3 separate regions of the Homo sapiens genome follow, and regions 1 and 2 are each linked to region 3. Evidence: promoter capture Hi-C in 16 types of primary human blood cells and fetal thymus (Javierre and others, 2016). All regions are on one chromosome and are shown on one strand. Each heading gives the region's core, a stretch centred on a gene start or on the middle of the fragment in contact. The rest is flanking DNA. Distances are from core to core; before and after follow the strand shown.

The links. Contacts are between HindIII fragments. The CHiCAGO score rates a contact against its expected background, and 5 or more counts as called.
Region 1: a fragment that was not itself captured here is called in contact with the fragment with the promoter of PAPOLG in region 3 in 1 of 17 cell types (total B cells); the score reaches 5.7 in total B cells.
Region 2: a contact is called between the fragment with the promoter of FAM161A here and the fragment with the promoter of PAPOLG in region 3, in 6 of 17 cell types (total CD8 T cells, naive CD4 T cells, fetal thymus and 3 more). The highest score is 9.5, in total CD8 T cells.

The regions. Positions count from the first base shown.
Region 1 is chr2:61,775,483-61,779,453 of GRCh38, forward strand. No RefSeq gene overlaps it. Among named protein-coding and RNA genes, the nearest start is that of FAM161A, 77 kb to the right of the region's middle. The HindIII fragment of the contact is 5,382 bases long and covers 1-3,953 here.
Region 2 is chr2:61,851,598-61,855,654 of GRCh38, forward strand. FAM161A (FAM161 centrosomal protein A) reads right to left here and starts at 2,463. Exons shown (of 7, transcript NM_001201543.2): 1 at 2,262-2,463. The coding sequence starts at 2,444. RefSeq lists enhancers at 1,947-2,076, 2,237-2,396, 2,637-2,866, 3,607-3,656. The HindIII fragment of the contact is 5,666 bases long and covers 2,037-4,057 here.
Region 3 is chr2:60,754,000-60,758,098 of GRCh38, forward strand. It overlaps PAPOLG (poly(A) polymerase gamma), which reads left to right and starts at 2,269. Exons shown (of 22, transcript NM_022894.4): 1 at 2,269-2,496. The coding sequence starts at 2,480. RefSeq lists an enhancer at 2,185-2,494. The HindIII fragment of the contact is 3,911 bases long and covers 1,822-4,099 here.

The DNA.
Region 1 (3,971 bases), core at 13-2,512, 1.0 Mb after region 3:
ACAAAAAATGGGAGAATGAACATGAATGTATTATTTTTCTAATATATTGAGTGTGGGAGTCTTAAACCTTCCAATTATTAAAAGGGTCAATGATGGATCCAGTAGTTTAAATTATAATGTTAATATTTGGGCCTGGAAATATATTTTTAAATTATTTATATTCAATCAGCTTTAAAATATTGTAAAACTAGAAAACTGTAATTCAAATTATCTTCTTGTAACATCACTGCTTTAGGAAGTTTCTAGTTCCAAGTAAGATGGAGTGAGCAAATCCCAACCTATCTCTCCTACTGAATGTAGCTATTAACCTGGAAAGAATGCATGGCTCCCAAACTTGAGGACTGAAAAGTAAATCGAAACAGAAAGGTTGGAGAAGAAGGCATGAATATGAAGTACCACTGAACATGCAGAGAGCTTACCATTTTTTCCCCTCTGATATCCCTAGTCTGGACTTGTGCAGCCCAAAAGCCTGAAGTCCAAATCAGTGTGGACAGAAAGAGCTCCAGGAGAAGGCTTCTAGATCTGGCTTGAGGGGTGGAAAAAGAGTTTCCTAATATACAGACAAAGTGGGGGAAATCTCATGTGCTTTGTTTTTTGTTTTGTTTTGTTTTTCTTTTCTCCATTCTCTAGCACCCAAACCTCAAGTAATCCTATAAAAGCAGAAGTGAAAATGACATTAATGGTAAGAGGAGCAGGCAGGTGCCTAAAACTTTGAGAAAAGAGAACTTTCCTCTCTGATCAGAGGTGCTGTGTTCCCAAAAATCAGAGTAGGGTAAATGGCAAACCCCCACTGCTTTCTTTTTTCATCTCTGTCCTCCCACTGCCTCGCTCCAGACATAAGCGTAGTTACGGAAAGTGAACAGAAAAGTAGCGTATGTACTTGGCTGGGCACAGCAGCTCATTCCTATAATCCCAGCACTTTGGGAGGCCGAGGTGGGAGGATCACTTGAGCCCATGAGTTCGAGACCAGCCTGGGCAACACAGTGAGACACTGTCTCTACAAAAAATACAAAAATCCGTTGGGTGTGGTGGTGCGTGCCTGTAGTCCCAGCTACTCAGGAGGCTGAGGTGAGAGGATCTCTGGAGCCCGGAGGTCAAGGCTGCAGTGAGCTGAGATTGCACACCTCAGCCTGGGCAACAGAGAGAGACTCTGTCTCAAAAATAAAATGAAAAACAAAACCCAAGTTTTCTGATCAGAGAACTATAAAAGGGAGCCCCAAGGAATTGGGATAAAACTAGGAAATTGAGTAGAGGAAGGAGCAAAAGTTTATGATTTCTGAGGTAACTCCCAAGCTGTACATGTGTGGATCTGATCCTCAACACTGTACCACAGGCTGTGAGAACTGAACTACACAGTTCCTGCCTCAGACCTTGACTGACCACTGGGTCAAGAACATTCAGGACTGATCCAAATAACACTGCAAAGCCTTTAAAAACAGAACTGATATTAAAATTACAACCTAGAGAAGTCTAATTGGAGTTTACAGTCTAATCCCAACCTGACTGATTATGGCTAACACAAAAATGTCAACATTCACTCCAGGATTTAAACAAAACCTCTAGTCTCGTAGCATAATATTCAAAATATCCAGGATACAATCTAAAATTACTCAGCATTTGAGAAACCAGAAAAATCTAAACTGGGAAAAGATAATTGATAGACACTAACACTAAGATGACACAGATGTTGGCATTATCTGACAAAGACATTAAAGTAGGTGTTATAAAAATATTCCAAAACATCCTTGAAATAAATGAAAACATAAAAAAAAGAAAGTCTTGGCAAAGATTTCCCTTTTTTTTTTTTTTTTTTTTTTTTTTTAGGACAGAGTTTTACTCTTGTTGCCCAGGCTGGAGTGCAATGGGGCAGTCTCAGCTCACTGCAACCTCCGCCTCCTGGATTCAAGCAATACTCCTGCCTCAGCCTCCTAAGTAGTTGGGATTACAGGCACCTGCCACCAAGCCCAGCTAATTTTTGTATTTTTAGTAGAGATGGGGTTTCACCATGTTTGTCAGGTTAGTCTCAAACTCCAGACCTCAGGTGAGGCTGCCCACTTCAGCCTCCCAAAGTGCTGGGATTACAGGCGTGAGCCACCACACCTGGCCATGATTTCCTATTTCTATTGTATTCAGTTTTTCCATTTGAGAACTGAAAAATACAATAGCCAAAATTTAAAACCCACTGGATGGGCTCAGAACAGAATGGAGATGGCAGAGGAAAGAGTCAGTGACCTAGAAGGTACATAATAGAATTACTGATCTGAACAACTGAGAGAAAAAATTACTTAAAAAATAGGAAGAACAGAGCCTTGGGGATCTGTAGGATAGTACTAAAATGCCTCACGTAAATTATTAGAGTCCCAGAGAGGAGAAAGACTGTGATGTAGAAAAAGGTTTTTGGCCAGGCACGGTGGCTTACGCCTGTAATCCCAGCACTTTGGGAGGCCGAGGTGGAAGGATCACCTGAGGTCAGGAGTTTGAGACCAGCCTGGCCAACATGGTGAAACCCCATCTCTACTAAAAACACAAAAATTAGCTAGGTGTGATGACACGTGTCTGTGATACCAGCTACTTGGGAGGCTGAGGCAGGAGAATCACTTGAACCTGGGAAGCAGAGTTTACAGTGAGCCACGATCATGCCTGTTGGGAGCTGAAAAGGACAAAGAGATCGTGACCACTGGAGGCTATATGATCAAACAGCAAACTGTTTATCATGAATGCAGGATGTGAGCAAACTCACGACTGTGCCTGCTGCCAGGAGGTTTGCTGAGGGCAATCACTCCCTGGCACCGGGCTCCTTGAAGTTATCTACTGGGACAACTAGAGCCTACTGTTCAAGGAATGTGGTCTTGCAAGCCTACTCTAGACCGAGCAGCTGACCTCTTCTTCCACACCCCCACTTGTCTCTATCTCTTTTGCCAAATAAATACGGAGGGCTGTTCAGGACCCTTGTCCACTACAGGCAAGGTGCCCTCTGACCCCTTCTTCCAAATATAATCTTTTGTCTTCGTCTTTATTCCCACGTTCGCCTGCCTTTGTTCAGTCCACCACGGATTGAGATCGGTTACAATGCCACTGCTCTCCAGCCTAGGCGACAGTGAGACTCCGTCTCAAAAAAAAAGAAAAAAGAAAAAGGCGTTTGAAGAAATAATGCTTGAAAACTTCTCAAATTTGTTGAAAGACAAACATACAGATTCAAGAATCCCAACAAATCCCAAAAGGATAAACCCAAAGAAATCCATCCTCAGACACGTCATAATCAAACTGCTGGATAAATAAACACACATGAAAAAAAATTTTTTTTAAGAGACAAGGTCTCACTCTGTTGCCCAGGCTCATAGCCTCAACCTCCTGGTCTGAAGAGATCTTCCAGCCAAAGCCTCTTGAGCAGCTAGGACTACAGGTGGATGCCATCATGCCTGCATGATTTTGTACTTTTTTTTTTTTTTTTTTTGTAGAGGGAGGGTCTCACTATTCTGCACAGGCTGGTCTCCAACTCCTGACCTCAAGTAATCCTCCCACCTCAGTCTCCTAAAGTGCTGGAATTACAGGTGTGAGCTACTGCACCCAGCCAAAAAAACTCTTGAAGGAGATTTTTTCCAGGAATCTAGAGGGGAAAAAATGCATTACATAGGGGAAAAATGAAGATGGATTTTTTTAATAAAAAATCATGAAGACCAGGAGAGGCAGAGAATTTATAAAGTGCTGAAAGATTTTAATATTCCCCTCAATTTTATAGCCAACAAAAATCCTTCAGAATTGAGGTGAAATAAAACAATCTCAGATGAAAGAAAATTAAGAGGATTTGTGGCAAGAAGACCTATGCTTAAAAAAAATAAGTGCTAAAGGAAGTTTTCAGGCAAAAGGGAAATTATACTAAAAGGGAACTTAGAACATTAGGAATAAAGAGGCTGGGCGCGGTGGCCCACACCTATAATCCCAGCACTTTGGGAAGCTTAGGCGGACAGATC
Region 2 (4,057 bases), core at 1,213-3,712, 1.1 Mb after region 3:
GTGCTGGGAGGAGTGAGATTTTAATTGCGAATTACAGAATACTGCGTTACCTGTGTCATCATCAGTCATATAACAGGATATGTGGACCAACATCTCTGACTAAGGCTAGATTCAAGGAACAGGCATCAGTGCCCAATATGGGCACTGCAAGGGGGGTGCGTGTGTATGCCAGAGCTGGGAGGGTGTATAGGGATGGTGCAGGGGTTGGGGGGTTGGGGGGCAGTGTGGGGTGGGATGAGTGGTCTGGCTTTGGCAAAACCAAAGAGCTGAAAGAGGCCTATTGTGATGGGTGGTTCTCAAATCAATCTTGTGGGTTAGGTATAATATTTGACTTTACTACATTTTATAGATAATAAGGTTAAGGCAAATTAACCTTTAAAAATCAAGATGGAGACCCAAGCCAACCAGTGAAGAAAGCAGAGCCTATTTCCTGCACTCTTCCTGCCTTCTTAATGCCTCTTCCCCCAGCCTGTGCCCCCTGGCTATCAGGCCCACTGTGGCAGCTTACCCAGCTTTACTTTTGGATCCCTCATGTGTGGTGGTCTCAGAACAGTACCAAACTCTTAAGACTTGGCTTCCTTTTTTTTTTTGTAGGATCCTGTCCTTTCCAAACTAGATTATTGTATAAACTGATCCCTCCTAAGGTAATAACAGTTTCTAACACAAATTTGCAGTTTAACAGGGCACTGTGGAAGCATATCTGCAACTTAGAAGTGACTGACTCCTTTACCACAGCAAGCCAAAGTTGAGTTTAATCTTTGGGAAGGCACACAAATGACACTCCCACTGGCAACTCATTTACATAGATTGCTCTTTAGAGGAGACACACATTCTTTCATTTGGTTCTCATAGAGCTGAGATGGGAAAAAAGAGACAATTATTATAGTTATTTTACAGATAAGGAAACTGAGGTTTAAGGAAATTATGTCCTAACACCACCTAGGAAGTGGCAGGGAATGGATCCTAATACAGAACTCTTCAATCCTTTTTCTCCATCACGTTGCCTTGTTGCCTACTGAAAATTGTGTTGAGGGGTAGCTTCATCATGAACAAAATCGGTCCTAGCACTCTGATCCTGGTTCATGTTCAGGGTCTCAGTCTGCCTTACTCTGGATAACTTCAAGTTGTTTGTCTGTTGGTGAAAGATTGGTCACAAAAGGTGTTGCTAAAGATGTTCTCATTAACAATTTTACTGTAGATTAAAGAGATCAGAATTCCAAAATATCCAGTGATTTCAGTTAGTCCTCAATCATAAGTTTGGTGTCTGAGAAGCTTTGGACACATGGTATTAGGAAATTTTTTCTATCTGCAGATTGCTAGTTTAAATTCAAGATTCCCATCTTTTTTTTTTTTTTTTTTTTTTGAGACTGGGTCTGAGATCTCAGCTCACTGCAACCCTCACCTCCCAAGTTCAAGCGATTCTCCTGCCTCAGCCTTCCGAGTAACTAGGATTACAGGGGCGCACCACCACGCCCGGCTAAATTTTGTATTTTTAGTACAGACGGGGTTTCACCATGTTGGTCAGGCTGGTCTCGAACTCCTGACCTCGTAACCCGCCCACCTCGGCCTCCCAAAGTGCTGGGATTATAGGCACGAGCCACCGCGCCCGGCCAAGATTCCCATCTTTTAAGTGAATTGAGCAGATGGCAGACCCTGCCCTCTACCTGCTGGACTGGTGTCCACAACAGATTTAACAATGAAAACTGATCAGTGAAAAGGCCGTCTCGCTGTACCCTAAAGAGCTGTTTAGGAAACACTGAAACCTCAGTGATTTGCTTATCTGTATCCGTGTCTGATTTAGCCAGTGAACACGTGATGGTTTTAAACACACATCTTTAGAGCACTATGTTGAGATCCGCTTATAACCAAGATCTTAAGGTAATAACGAAACACACCTGACAGAACAGTTTTCCTCAAATTACTATATATAGCCAGATATATCTCTATATATCCATTCCCGAGATGCTGGAGAGTAGAGAGTAAAATTCTATACTTTGCACTTGCCAGAAGCAGAGTAACATAAATGTTGTCTAGGAAGCTTTTACAACAGACTGGTGAAAATTAAAACACTTTTCAACGCCTCGATTTAGAGTAATTTTCGTGAGCGTAGAGAAGGGGCTGGGCCAGGACCACCAAGTAGGGACTATGTGCACAGGGACCCGCGTTTACCAGCCTGCCCTCAGCTGGGCGGGGAACCGGACAGCCCTCAGCCTGCACCCAGCCCATGCGAGGTCCCAGCCCAAGTCCCGCCCCAGTATTACCGATGCCCCAGCGGGCTGAGCCACTTTCTCCTCCTCTTCGTCCTCCAAGATCGCCTCCGCTGCCGCCAGGGCCTTTAAGGGGTCTTCGCGTTCGTACTGGGCGACCCGCGCTCCAGTGATGGGATTTACCGGGGTCTGGAGACTGGAGGCCACCAGCTTCGCCACTCGGTGGGAGGTGGCCATCGCCCCGCCTCCGAGGCCTGAGCGCCTGCGCTGGCCCGGGACGGGAAAGCTGGTGCGGCCCCTGGCAACCCGGGGGCGCCTAGCTAGGGAGCCGGTTGCTATGGGCGCCGTAACTGGGGACGCTACAGGAGCCGCCAGGGACCAAAAGTCACGCAAAATCCACTCAGGCTGCCAGAGACCCGAGTCGGGTGCTTACTGGATCATGGCAGTCAGTACCGAGTCTGTTGGCTGGTTCCGAAGGTTGGCAGGCTGAACAGGGCACTTATTCCACTCCTTTGCGTCTAACCGCCTGAACGCAGACTTCTCACATTATACAATGAAACAACTGCTTTTGTGAAGAAAAGAACGCTTTTTTATTAACTGCAATAACATGTTAGAAGGAGACAGTTGATGGAGGAGACGGCGGCGGCGGAGGAAAGCAGGGCGTGTTACTGGGTGGCGGTCTCAGAAGAGTGACAAGGTTGGCGTCCCGCTACCTAACATGTCTCCCGCGGGGGCCAGAGTGGGAAGGAGGGCGGTACATTCTACTCTGATTGACTTGAGGGCTAGCAGGAATCCACCAATCAGAAGGAGGCTCCCAGTTGTCCCTCTCGCTTTTTTCTTGACATGACCAATAAAAGCCCAGAGTTGGGTGGCGCCTGACCCTCCCACTAATGAGTGATAGTGCAGGTATTGTAAACCTGGCGTTTGCTTTGGGTTCTTCAGCTTGAGAGTGACAGGATTGAACGGCACAAGTGCCCAAGAGTCACCACAGACACATCCATCTCCCTCATCCGTATCTTCTCTTCCCACTCGGGATTTGGACGCATCAAATGGCGCCTTCCCTCTGCACCACGTGGCAGTAAGAGAAGCCAAACCTCAAAATAGCGGACGTGGTGCAGTCTCAGACATCTGCTCCCTGAGCCCCTGCTTACTGAGGCCGAGGCTGCCGCCCCCTATCTACTCCCTATCTACCCCCTCTCTATCCTTTGCCCTCCTCCTGCTCCCCAGCCCTACGACCGGCCCCCTCCGGTCAGTATTTTCCTCGTTATGCGCTGCACATCGTCGAGAACCCGTCTCTAAGGTCTGAGCCCTTACCAAACCTTTGTTCTCCTGTCTGGGTGTGAGCACCTACAAAGTCTCCTACGTCCCCACTTCCTTCAGGCTGCTCTTGGTTTTAGCTGAACAGTTGCTTCCCATGCTGGAACAGATGCTGACTGGGTTCTAAGCAGAAGCCAGAGCCAGAACCATGAGATATGCACCGCCAGGTGTGGCCAAGTTTCCAGGGGAGCAATTTCCAGTCAGACACGGCAGCCAGTTTTGTGGCTACAAAACTGCCTCAGCCTCCGGAGTAGCTGGGATTACAGGCGCACTCCCGGGAGGCGGAGGTTGCAGTGAGCCGGGATGGCGCCACTGCACTCCAGCCTGGGCAATAAAGCAAGACTCCGTCTCACCACCACCACCACCAACAAAAGTATTGATAAGGAATTATAGCAGATGAATTATAAATAATGAAATATCCTATTCTCTTTACTGTAAATTCCTCATAGACAATTGCTTCTCTCAGAATGCTTTCGTTGGTTTATGCTGTACTCCTGTATTTGTGGCCAACTTATGGTTGCAATTGTTTAACA
Region 3 (4,099 bases), core at 1,019-3,518:
GAGATGGGGGTTAGGGACTGTCATTAAATCCCAGGTAGATTAACAAAGACAGGAAAATGGGAAGAAAAGCAATTGATTAAAACACCGTGGCCGGGCATGGTGGCTCACGCCTGTAATCCCAGCACTTTGGGAGGCTGAGGCTGGCGGATCACGAGGTCAGGAGTTCAAGACTAGCCTGACCAATATGGTGAAACCCTGTCTGTACTAAAAATACAAAAATTAGGCTGGAAGCGGTGGCTCACGCCTGTAATCCCAGCACTTTGGGAGGCTGAGATGTGCGGCCAACATGGTGAAAGTCCATCTCTAAAATACAAAAAATTAGCCAGGCGTGGTGGCGCACGCCTGTAGTCCCAGCTACTCGGGAGGCTGAGACAGGAGAATCATTTGAACCCAGGAGGCAGAGGATGCAGTGAGCCAAGATCATGCCACTGTGCTGCAGCCTAGGTGACAGAGCAAGACTCCATCTCAAAAATAAATAAATAAATAAATAATAAAACACTGCTTGGCTGGGTGTGGTGGCTCACATCTGTAATCCTAGCACTTTGGGAAGCCGAGGTGGGCGGATTACCTGATGTCAGGAGTTTGAGACTAGCTGGCCCACATGGTGAAACCCCGTCTGTACTAAAAATACAAAAATATAGCTGGACGTGGTGGTGCATGCCTGTAATCCCACCTACTCAGGAGGCTGAGCAGAGATCACGCCACTGCACCCCAGCCTGGGCAACAGAGCGAGACTCCATCTCAAAAAAACCTCTGCCTCTCGGGTTCACGCAATTCTCCTGCCTCACCCTGCTGAGTAGCCGGGATCACAGGCGCACCACGCACCCAGCTAGTTTTTCTATTTTTAGTAGAGATGGGGTTTCACCATGTTGGCCAGGCTGGTCTCGAACTCCTGACCTCAAGTGATCCACCCGCCTCAGCCTCCCAAAATGTTAGGATTACAGGTGTGATCCACCACACCAGGCCACGTCAGGTTTTTGTTGTTGCTTTTAAGTAGAGATGGGTTTTTGCCATGTTGGCCAGGCTGGTCTTAATAGAACTCATGGCCTCAAGTGATCCACCAGCCTTGGCGTCACAAAGCACTGGGATTGCAGGCAAGAGCCACTGCACCTTGCTCAGGTTTTCAAAAATATGTTTTGTAGTTTTTATTTATTTATTTATTTATTTATTTTTTTGAGACAGGGTCTCCTTCTATCACTCTGGCTGGAATGCAGTGGTGCCATCCTGGTTTCCTGCAGCCTCCACGTCCTGGACTCAAAGAGATCCTCCCACCCCAGCCTCCTGAGTAGCTGGGACTACAGGCATGGGCCACCATGCCCAGCTAATTTTTTTAAAACTTTTTGTAGTGACAGGGTCTCACTATGTTGCCCAGGCTGTTCTCGAACTCCTGGCCTCAAGCAATTCTCCCACCTTGGCCTCCCAAAGTGCTGGGATTACAGGTGTGAGCCACTGTATCTTGCCTCAATAAATATTTTTTAATGAATTAATCAGCAAGTAATCTCCTCTATTTACTGTGACTCTGAGTTATGTTCAAGAGCAAGCAGTTCTTGACTTCCTTTTCTTTGTAATGATTTAGTGCTTGAAATTACTTCTACCTTTCAGCATTTTAAAATTGGTTATTATTTTCTCATTTTCATCCCCACACTCACATCGAACATGATTTCCACTATTTAAAAGTGTAAGATTTTTGTTTCAGCCTGGGATTTATCCTATTGCAAACTGCTAGCTACTATTTTCAACCTCTGTCAGCTAAATGCCAGAATGTCACTAATCAAAGGTGGTACTTAGGGGTGAAGTGAACAGTTAAGCCTCCAATTTACAAGCTTGTTTTTCCCTGGGATACTTGTGTGAAAGTCGTATGTTCCTGGGTGTGACCCTTTCGAGACAAAATCTCAACTGGTGAGTTAATTATGTATAACTATAATTAAATCAAAGATGTAGGATAACGGAGGCGTTGAAATAGTTTTTGCTAGGCAAGGGTGTGACCTTTTTAAAAAATGTATGATATATGCTGCCATTCGAGAGGCAAGGAAAACATATCTCCAAATTTCCTTCCAAGCGGTCTACCGGCATTGACAGTACCGCGGACAAAGGAGAGTACCAAATAAATACTCCTTCGAACCAACGGTATACTGAGAGCCCTGAGCTTGTGGGCGGGGCCCCGGAGCCTCCCGGGACCTAAAGGCAGAGGGGGCGTGGCTGAGGGTGGTCCAGACCTCCAGGGGCGGGGCTGAGACCTGCGAGAGGCAGGCTGGGAAGCGGCGCCATATTGGCGTCGGCCGCGCTGTATTGTCATAAATAGAGCCGGTTTTGTGGTGTTTTCACTACTCGGTTGGATGCCTCAGCCATAGTAAGTGGGAAAGTGAGCGAGCAAGCGAGCTACTAGCGACCGGAGGAAAGTGAACAGGGGGAGAAGGGAACAGCAAGAACAGGACTCCAGAGCGATAAACACTCGCTGGAGAGGGAGACGCAGGAAGCGATGAAAGAGATGTCTGCGTAAGTGGTGGGGGGCGGCGGTTGGGGTGAGGCGGGTAGGGGTGAGCTGAGGTGGTCCGACTGTGTCCTTGTTTCCGTTCCCTGTCCCTTGCGCCCTGCACGCAGCTCGCCGGGATGGTCTCCTTCCCGGCTCCCGGCCGGTCCGCAAGGGCACCTCCCCTAAACCCGGCGGCTCACCTGGCCACCCCTGCACGGACTCGGGGACTCCGGGAGTCCCCAGCTGTCCCGCCTCCGAGGACGCCCTCAGAAAAGGATGAGGAGGGAAAGAGGTGCCTGTGTCCGTAGGGAGAAATTGTCGGTCACTCGCCTGCCCCCAGCACTGTCTGAGCCCGTCTGCTCCTGTCTGCATTGGCGCAAATACCATCCCCCTGCCTCCCCCTCCTCCCTTCCCGACCGGCTGTCTCCAGGTCTTCAGGAGTGAAAGACCTATCGCAGCCCAAGGGTTTCTCTTTCATATGAGGCTACAGTCTTTTCACCGCCGTCCCCACCCTCTCCCTCACCCCCTGCTTCCCCACCTACCCACAACATCTACCGGTCTGTACCTCTTGTTCACACTTTGATAAGTCAGAAACAGTTCCCGTACTTGGCAAGATTTTGTTGTAGCTTCTTCCATTTTGGTCTATTAGGAAATAATTTAAACATGCAGAAAAATGTAGAGAATAACATAAGCATCATTTGTGGAGCCACCACCCATTTCTCCCAAAACGTAACTGTACACACATACACGTACATGCACACACGCACACACACGGTGTGTATATACGTATCTGTGTATTTATTTTAAAAAGAAATCAAGCATTCCAGATACATCTGAAGGACTCTCCTACCTCCTTCTCTGGTCCCAATCATCTCTTGCTCCAGATGTCTCCACAGTCTTGAATTTGATGTTTATCGTTGCTGCCTGTTTTTTATTTTACTTCTTTTTTTTCCGCCCTCGAATCATGGGAGCTGCATGTTTTTTAATGCTATTACTACATACACATGTGTTCATAATAACTGGCATAGTTCTAGTTGTTTTTAAACTTTATATAACTCGTATCACACTTGGAATTCTGTAACTTCTTTAGCACAACATAGTATCTCTGAGCTTTGTTCATGTTAGTATTTTAGTTGTAATTAATTAATATTAATTATTGTATTGTATTCTATTGTAGGAAAACACCCTAATTTAATTCTTTTCCTGTTAGTGACTATTTTATTTCTAAGTTTTTAATGTTACAATGTGACAGTGAACGTTCTTTTAGGTGTCTCTTTGTACGCTTGTAACTAGAATTTCTCTAGGTTGTTTGCCTGTAAGTGAAATTGATGGTTTGAAGGGAATGTGGGATTCTGTTGTTTACTTTCCCCTCCCCTCTAGATGGGGGAAGTTCAGAACCTGGATTTGGAATTTTAGGGCCAGTAGGCTAGTTGGCCAACTTTGTCAGCATACAGGTAAAAAAGTGAGGCCCGTCATCATGGTGTCAGAGCTGAAGTAGTTAGAGAGGAGAGAATGGAGTAGTGGAAAGAGGTTTTGGAGTTCAGATTCTGGCTTGTCCTCTCTTTGACTTTCAGGTACTTATCTGTAAAATGGCACTTATTCAATACCCCTTAGGATTATTGCGAT